Regions from separate parts of the Homo sapiens genome. Here region 1 is linked to region 2. The links are contacts of gene promoters, found by promoter capture Hi-C in blood cells and fetal thymus (Javierre and others, 2016). All regions are on one chromosome and are shown on one strand. The core of a region is centred on a gene start or on the middle of the fragment in contact, and the rest is flanking DNA. Distances in the headings are between cores, read along the strand shown. Region 1 overlaps ATXN7 (ataxin 7). Region 2 holds the start of PSMD6 (proteasome 26S subunit, non-ATPase 6).

What was found. The method cuts DNA at HindIII sites, captures the fragments that hold promoters and counts their contacts. A CHiCAGO score of 5 or more calls a contact.
Region 1: a contact is called between a fragment that was not itself captured here and the fragment with the promoter of PSMD6 in region 2, in 1 of 17 cell types (total CD8 T cells). The highest score is 6.5, in total CD8 T cells.

Annotation. Positions count from the first base shown.
Region 1 is chr3:63,888,908-63,893,666 of GRCh38, forward strand. All of the region lies in intron 1 of ATXN7 (ataxin 7), which reads left to right. Among named protein-coding and RNA genes, the nearest start is that of ATXN7, 27 kb to the left of the region's middle. The HindIII fragment of the contact is 5,625 bases long and covers 568-4,759 here.
Region 2 is chr3:64,020,215-64,024,878 of GRCh38, forward strand. It overlaps PSMD6 (proteasome 26S subunit, non-ATPase 6), which reads right to left and starts at 3,280. Exons shown (of 8, transcript NM_014814.3): 1 at 3,061-3,280; 2 at 2,104-2,309. The coding sequence starts at 3,205. LOC105377121 (a long non-coding RNA gene) reads left to right here and starts at 3,861. Exons shown (of 3, transcript XR_940906.3): 1 at 3,861-3,937; 2 at 4,411-4,528. RefSeq lists enhancers at 2,582-3,204, 2,889-3,238, 3,205-3,826 and a silencer at 3,389-3,488. The HindIII fragment of the contact is 6,204 bases long and covers 496-4,664 here.

The sequences.
Region 1 (4,759 bases), core at 2,130-4,629, 130 kb before region 2:
GAATGTTACATAAATATGATCTTTTAAAATTGGCTTTTTTCACTTAGCATTTTAAAAAGAATTTTATTTTTAAAAGAATATGATAAAATTTTTAAACGAATATTTATTTTTTTAAAGTTGTTACCCAGAGTTTGATTCACTAATTTTAAGACCATATATTTCTAGCTTGGGTGTTCCATACTCTGTGTTGCTATATTTGAACAGCAGCTAAAGTCGAATATGCCGACGTAATAGCTGATTATAGCATTAACCTTATTGCCTGCTGTTAAGGATGATACCTTGATGTTAAAGGGAAAATTACCCTGGGAAAAGTCCATCCTATCAACAAAGTAGATATTACAATTGATGAAGAGCAGGAATAAGAAGTCCCAATGTTTATACCAAATAAAGTAACTGACCATATTTGTACTCCATTTCATCTTGAAATCTTCAAAGGAGAGAGACTTTTTGGAACATGATATTTAAATGAACAGCAGTTGAAATATTTACATTAATTAACTAATGCAAAGCTTATGTCACAGAATTGTGGAATGTCACCATACGAAATCAAGTGTCTGCATCATGTTAAGCTTCTTTGAATGTCTTAAGTAGGAAATGGAGTTCTATGGATAGGCAAGGGCTAGAAATAGCCTCAGAAAAATCAAATCTTCAGATGCTGGTATACTATTTTCTGACAAAATACGGAGAATATTCTAGGATCTATAGGAGGGCATGTTAGTGTTTGGCTGCAAATAATGATACCATGGCTCTAGGGAATGCCACATGGTCAAACCTATAGCACTGAGCAAATAGAAAGTGAATCCCAGGATACCATTCTGCAGCACATGGCAGTGAATAAGCACTGGCTCCTCAGCTTCTCCAGAATTCATGTTCCTGAGGTTGTGTCAGGACAGATTTTTATGAATAGGGTAATCTTGCAACTAGCAAATGATTTTTGTTTGGCCCTAGCTCCTAACATTTTAGATAGTCTTCCTCCCAGTTGGGAAAATATTCCTGGTAATTAAAATCATCCTCTACTTACCAGCTTAACATTTTTCCCTTGATCACATTTGTTTTCTTTAAGCAGCATATGATTGTACTTAAAGTAGCTATTGGGATAGAGGAGAAGGGAAACAATCATTTATTGACCATCAGCTATATGCCAGCCACTTTGCTAAGTGTTTATGTTCATTCATGCATGTAACTGCAGTATTGAAAAATTTCATTAATGATACTCATTAAGTTATGGATCTGAAATAAACAGCATCCTAAGCAACTGTTTGTAGCAAGCCAATTTTCTTGGTCAGATTTACTCAAGGGGTTTGTTGACCAAAACACAGTAGAGAAAGAGTGAGACATAGTGCATATATGCCTGTGAGAAATGGTTTAAAGAATATAATTATATCTATTAATTTGTATATTCATGAGACAGTGTGTAAAATGATACAGAATTTAGACATGTAAGACCCAGCCCCTCTCCTCTTAGCTGTTTATCCAAATGAGGGAAACAAGTTTTGAGTTAAAGGAAAATATCAACTAACTACAGGACTTAAACTGCTTAACCCATCAATGTAACATGTATAACAGGGCATTACATAATTATTTTTGAAATCTTTCAGATTGTAAATGCTTTAATATTCAGAAGAGGAAATGATTACTGATCTCTGACCCTTGATTTTGTTATCTGTATGATTTTGCTACCTCGTAGAAGTAAATAAAATAATGTATATAAAAGACTTAATATAATGCCTACTACTTAGTATACCTTCAATAAATTGTAGCGGTTGCTGTTGGTAATGAAAATTATGACGATAGTAAGAATACTTTATAAGAGTAGGCTAACTGCTATAATGACCCAAAACCCCAGTGCCTTAACACAATATAATGTTTATTTCTTGTTTAAGCTCAGAGTGTGTTGGCAAGGAGGCTCAGAGTGTGTTGATTCCCCCAGTCATTCAGGAGTGAAATTGTGTGGCTCTGCCCTCCTGTAAGTACTTGGAGCCCTTTCCATTTGACCAACAGAGGGTAGGAGAGACTGAAGCTCAAGCCAGAGAGGTTTGTATGGGCCTAGCCCAGAAGTGTGGCACCCAACATTTCTTTTTTTATTTTATTTTATTTTATTTTATTTATTTGTTTATTTTGAGACAGAGTCTTGCTCTGTCACCCAGGCTGGAGTGCAGTGGCACCATCTCGGCTCACTGCAACCTCCACCTCCCGGGTTCAAGTGATTCTTGTGCCTCAGCCTCCTGAGAAGCTGGGACTACAGGCACGCAGCACCACGCCTGGCTAATTTTTGTATTTTGAGTAGAGATGGGGTTTCACCTTGTTGGCCAGGCTGGTCTGGAACTCCTGATCTCAGTGATCTGCCCACTTCAGCCTCCCAAAGTGCTGGGATTACAGGCGTGAGCGACGAGCGACTGCACCTGGCCCCAGCACTTTTTTTTTTTTAAGAGATGGGGTCTTGCTCTTTTGCACTAGCTGAAGTACAGTGGCACAGTCATAGCTCACTGCAGCCTTGAACTCCTGGGCTCAAGTGATCCTCCTGCCTCAGCCTCCCAAGTAGCTGGGACTACAGGTGTGAGACACCACACCTGGCTAATTATTTATTTTAATTTTCATAGAGATGGAGTCTCGCTGTGTTGCCTAGGCTGATCTCGAACTCCTGGCCTCAAGGGATCCTCCCTCCTCAGCCTCCCAAGGTGCTGGGATTACAGGCGTGAGCCATCACACCTGGCTTACACAACATTTTTGTTCACATTTTGGATTCAGTCACATGTCTCTACCTTACTGCAATGAATATTGGGAAATTTAGGCAAACTATGTGCTCAGGCAGAGAATGTAAATATAGGTGACTATTGGCGATCTCTATCACAAATAGTATTTACAAAGGCTTAGTAGAAGTGGAAGCATTTTCCCTGGATCTTTTAGAGAAGAGTGAAATTTGTTGTGTGCTGCTCAGCCTGTATTTAGGAGGTAATATTTAAAGAGGTGGGTAGAATAATTAAAAACTGTACGAGCATTATTAATGAAAACTACATTTATCCCACTAGCCACTGCCCTTACTGTCAGTCATTTGGTAAGTGACCTTTGGGAAGCCATTTATCTGTTACAGACCTGCATTTCCTCACTTACAAGTATTCTTTGTAGGGCTGTGGTGAAGATTAAACAAGACAGTGCATGTACAGAGTTTAGCAGAGGGTCTGATCCAAGTTAAGCACTCAGCGAAAATTGTTCTTATTGGTAGTGTTGATAAGTATGGCCTCAGAGTAAAACGCGTGCTAGCTGTTCATTTATTTAACATCTATCCTAAGGGACCATGCTAGACTAGCAAAGAATGACTTGACTGAGGACACATATATGAATTTTAGAATTTTGTAACCCCAGGCCAGTCATAGGAGATTAACGTTCCCCTGGTAGACTATTGGGGAACAAACTCTCTCTGTTCCCCAGGCTTTCCTCCTCCCAGTCAACTTTAAAGACACCTCTACCACACACACACACACACACACACACACACACACACACCCGCCAACTCCTGTCAACAGGAGTACTGGACTTTAATTTGCCTCTTATCGCTCCTTCACACACACACACACACACACACACACCCACACACACACACACACACCCCAACTCCTGTCAACCGGAGTACTGGACTTTAATTTGCCTCTTATCCCTCCTTCTCCCTTCCTTAGCATTGATGTCTATAGGTGAGTTTGCCTGGTGAGAGTGAAGGTAAATGCCAGAGCAGCTCTTTATTCCACTGGCCTAATTGCGGGTTCTTAGCAAGGCAATAGCATCCCACTCCAGGCACATATTAACCTGAGTGGCTGGGTAGCCGTCAGGACCTGTGGTTCCATTTTATCCAATTCAATTCATCAGGCATTTATTAACACTTAACAACATTGGGCCCTAGGGATACAAGAATGAAATGTTGCAGACCCAGCCTCCAGGAAGCCCACCTAGGGCAGTAGGCATGATGACCTGATGAGGTTTCATCTGAGCTGGGTTTTGAAGTCTAGATGTGAGTTACTTGGAAAGTAAGAAAGGAGTTCAAGGAGGCATGAACAACAGGTGTGGAGAAACAGGTGGGAATTGTGGTGTATTGCAGTGGAGGGAATGGTTTTAAGCTCAACTCTAACATGCACTACCTCAGCTTTTATTGGCCTCATCTCACAAGCCTCAATTTTCTGATAAAGGAGCACAGAAAGAGTTCCTGTGTTATAGATGGGAGGTCTAAGTGAAATGATGCATGTAAAAGGCTTACTTTTTATTACTGGGCGCATGGTAAGTGTTCAGTAAATGTCAGCTACTACTACTATTATTATTGTCATGTGCTTTTATAAATTGACTTTCAAATCTACTGACTTGATCAGGGTTTTGCACAATGACAAATTGGAGAATTACTGGGAATTTTATATTTTACTTTTAGCTAATGGTGAAATGGTGCCCTGTAGTCACAAATAATGGATAGAAAAATGCCTTGCTGACCTTTCTTTGCTAAAAGAAGAGGGAACCTAGTTAACCTCAGTGAAGCCTGGGAGAGATAGGCTCAAGATGGGAGAACTGTGTGTCCTGAAATGGCAAAAGAGTGAAGGATGGCTATATTGAACATATTTGGAGAGAGCAGAGGGACTGAACATTGTGTAGGTATATACTAATAGAAGCTGTTAGAAAATGGAGGCTCCTTTAAAAATAAGACTCCACATGAGGCGTTCTACGAAGTGTTGAGAAAGCCCTAGGACTGACTGCAGTGGCTGAAATGTACTCAAGAAACCCA
Region 2 (4,664 bases), core at 2,030-4,529:
TTTGCAACAAACTTAGCACCATAAAGAATAAGACTCTCATCAGTGGTAACAGTGAATAATAAAAGCCCACTAAGTCCATTAAGTATTTAGTAATACTAAATAAAATAAAATATAAAAAACGAGAGTAAATAGGAGGGGAAAAGTTGTTCGTTTTGGAAGAGTATTTAATAAATACAGAGGAAATATAATATTAGAACATTTTACAACTTCCTGATACTGATTCAAGCATGTCCTTGTTGAAATTCTTCAAAACCTGAATCAAAAGTTTCAAGTTTCTCATTCATATGTAATATATTAGTCTTTAAAACCAAGCCACAAACATACAGCTTAAAAGTAAATGGAAACCACTAGATAATTCTAAACTTTTCTGTATTTTCCAAATTTTTACAATGACCACGTCTTAAGTTTACAACCAGAAAAGAGAAAAAAACCTCGTTTTAGATATACATTGCAAAACAACATTTAGGCACTTACTATGTGCTAGGTACCAGTCTAAGCTTTTTCCTATCCTTAATCCACATTAAGTAAAAACTATCAGTACTCCTGTTTTACACATGAGGAAACCGAGGGTTTCATAAATCATAATTACCGAGGTTGAAAACAGAACCCAGACAATCTGATTCAAGAGCTCATGTTATTTTTATTTTTTATATTGGCACCATGTCATTCTATACCTAAATACTTCCAGGCAAATAATTTAAAATTAAAAACATTCAAAGCCCATTTTCTTAACCACTATTACACAGTTACTCAATTAAATTTCAAAGATCCAGTAATGGTGAGTACCCCTCTGGTGCCCTGATGGTGGAGTAAGCTGGCTGCTATGCAGAACAACTGGCCACACATATTTAAAAAAAAGAAGAAAAAAAAAAACTGTTCATTGTCCCGGCGATTTTGTTTCATATACTATACCCTAGAGAAACACTAGCATATACACACAGAGACATACATAAGCATATTTTTACAGCAGCAGTTTGCTAAAGCAAAAACAGATGAAAACAACACATATGTCCAACAACAGCTGAACAGGCAAATAAACTATGCCAGAGCTAGCTCTACAGTGGAACATTAGGCAGCAGTTAACCAGGATGAGCCAGATTTATGTATGTTGGCATGGAAAAGACCTCTTAAATATAATGCTGAATGAAAAGGGCAAACAGGACTACACTAATACACTATGATCCTATGTACTTAAAAAAAAAATTCTGTAGAATTAAAAATTTCTGCAAGTATTAACTTTTTTAAAAATTGGTTCTTTCATTGAGCATTTATATTCTTTTACATATAAAATTTTACGTAAAAAAGATTTTATGACCGGGTGCACTGGCTCACGCCTATAATCCCAGCACTTTCGGAGGCCGAGACAGGTGGATCACCTGAGGTCAGGAGTTCGAGACTAGCCTGGCCAACATGTTGAAATCCAGTCTCTACTAATAATACAAAAAAATTAGCTGGGTGTGGTGGCGCACGCCTGTAATCTCAACTACTCGGGAGGCTGAGGGAGGAGAATCGATTGAACCCAGCAGGTGGAGGTTGCAGTGAGCCAAGATCACTCCATTGTACTCCAGCCTGGGTGGCAAGAGTGAAACTCCGTCTCAAAAAAAAAAAAAAAATTACCAAAAAGTTTGCATAAATGCACAATAAAAGAACTGAAAAGCCTATCCCTGGGCAGGTACAGAGTAAAGAAAGATAACAGAACTTCAGCATTTACTATACTGTTTCTTAGTTTCTGCTAAGTATTACTCGTGTAAAGTACTAAAGACACCAGAACCAGTGCTTCCCAACCAAGTGAGAAAACTGCTGAAAATGATCCCAATTTTGTAAAAGCAGTAAATAAAATTCTCTAGATGTACACTTACGTTTTTATCGGCATGGGGTGAAATGGGGAAGAATACAGCCCTAGCTGCTGTTTGGGGAAATGACAAGGCATTTCATGGAGACGACTTTTTCATCTTTACATTGATTCACCAGTACAAGCAAGCATGATTACCTTTATACTTTTTCTAAAACGAAGTTAATTTTTTTAATGAGAAACGATTACCTGGAATAGTCTCCAATTTTAGCCTATACTAACTACAGAGAGGGAAAACCATCTCTACTCACTTTGTCACCTATCCGGCAGAGGTACTCGGCCTTTGCCATCATTGCATCGCGAATTTCGCTCTCTCCTAGATTCTTCTCTGCATCTTCCAGCTCCTCATCCAAACGCTTCAACTCATCTTCATTTGCCTTCTTCATTTTATTGAGTAGGTCCACGTCTATCTGCCAGTCGAGGGATTTGCACAAGGCTTCATAGTAAGGAGCCATGTCTAACATGCAAAAAGAGGGATGTGTGAGTGGGGACACTTGTGCCCTCAAGTCAAAGTCTGCCCACGTATTTCACCCCCCGCCCCGCCACAAGTCATCCACCAGTCTCTTCCCCACTAACAGGAAGGCATGCGATGGCGCTTAATAATCGGCTTGGCAAAACATAAACGTATGCTGGTGGGAGGTTTGCGTGACGGCCAATCCTGGCAATGCCAACCTCTACTAGGGCTGGAGGGAGGGCAATCCTCGGTTTGCTCTTGCCGGATTCTGTTCCAAAAGTCTTCAAACAGGGAAAGACTTTTTATACACACATACTCACATACATATGTTCAAACATACACATTCACTACAGAAGGGCCAGAAAGAACCGAACCCAAATTTCCCTTCCACAGGCAAGCTGAACTCTCCCACAGGAATACCCCGCGCCCGGGAGCAGTCCCCACTGACAGAAAGTCACGGGGCCTTTACTCTGTGCCTAGCACAGGGGTAAATATTAATGCCTCACGATTCTCCCCCAAGCTGCCCTTACAGGGGAAGGCGGCACAGAGAGATGCAGACCCCGCTGAGGCAAGTCGAGGTCCCCCAGGGTATCCCCAAACCAAAGCAAAACCCTAAGGGCCGGAGAAGCCAGGCCTGGTCTCTGAGACCCCGTCAGAGGGGTCTGGAGCTCCATCAAAAAAAGTCCCCGCAGGCTCCGGAACGCGGGGACGGCCCAGGCCTAGGCCGCTGACTCGGCGCTCGTGCGGGCCTCACTGTTATCGCGGACGGCCGCCATCAGCTCGTCGCGCACGGCAGCGTCTCCGCGGTGCTCGGGCAGGCTGAGCAGGAAGCGCAGCTGCGCGATACGCAAGTCGGGGTTCTTGGGCAGACCCTCCTCCTCCAGGTTCTCCAGCGGCATCGCGGCGAAGGGGACAGCGGCTGACAGGACACAACTTGGTTACGACCGGCTGCGGCAGCGGAAGCGGGAGGAGTCGGCGAATACGCCCGGCCGCCTGCGGCCCGGCTTCCGGTCCCGTCTCCGCCGGCAGCGTCCTCTGCTGGACACCTCCGGGAACGCCTCACCCGGCCTGGGCGCCTGCGCCCCTGTGTGGTCACGGGGGCTTTTCCACCCTCAAGGCCCCCTGCGGAGTCCCAGAGTGGGTGCAGCCCAACTCAAAAGCCCAATTTCTTGAATCTCTTTCTCACTCCCTTTTTAGCTATTTTACTTTCCGTTTGTAACTGATGGGAGCTTAAAATTTTTTGAAAACTGAAAATGTAATAACAGCATTAATAAAAACAATCACCATAGTTTGTCGAGTCGTTACTCTCATTCATCTTATTAAAATCATCTTCATGCTGCGAGGTAGTACTATTAGCCTATTTAGTAGGTAAGACAAATGAGGCACAAAGAGGTTAGGGAAACAGACCAACCAAGGTCATGTAACAGCCATGTCGCAAGGCCTAAATGAAAACCCCTATCTAGAACTCTAAAATCCACATTCTTTCTGCGGTTTTAAGAAGAAAAAAAAACTGCACCCAGGATTCTACGTCATAGTACAACAGCATCATCGTTTTGTTTACACATAAATTAAATCATTACATGCCTGCATTTTCAGCTTCCTTTTGTTCACATTGCTACAGATCTTCAGAGGTGGTAATCTTTACATTAAATTCCTTTTTTTTTTGAAACGGAGTCTTGCCCTGTCACCCAGGCTGGAGTGCAGTGGCACAATCTTGGCTCACTGCAACCTCTGCCTCCCAGCTTCAATCGATTCTCCTGCCTCAGCCTCCCAAGTAGCTGGGATTACAGGCCTGCACCACCATGCCGGGCTAATTTTTGTATTTTTAGTAGAGACGGGGTTTCACCATGTTGGCCAGGCTGGTCTTGACCTTCTGACCTCAAGTGATTCCCCCGCCTCAGTCGTCCAAAGTGCTGGGATTACAGGTGTGGGCCACCATGCCTGGCCTAAATTCCATCTAATGGATTTACCATAATTTACTTTCACTCTTCCCTCTGTTAGAGGTGTCTTTAGGTTGACCAGAGTTTTTACTTACCTAATATAAAAACTTGGATGAAGACTTTGGATGTCTAGATCACTTCATGTTTTGCATCTTTTTCCTTAGCATAAAATCCCATGAAGGAATAACGGACAAAGGGAAGAAGGATTTTGTGACTTGGGGATATTTAATGTTAAATGGTTTTCCAAAAGAGCTGAACCAGTTTACACAGCTGCTGAAACAGGTGAGACTGCCACATCTCACAGGCAGTAGGCATCATCACATAATTTAAATCTATTATTTGTTTCTATAAAAATGAAACAAGCATTTTGAAGACAACTCAAATGATAGAGAAAATATGAAGAGTAAAAAAAAAATAC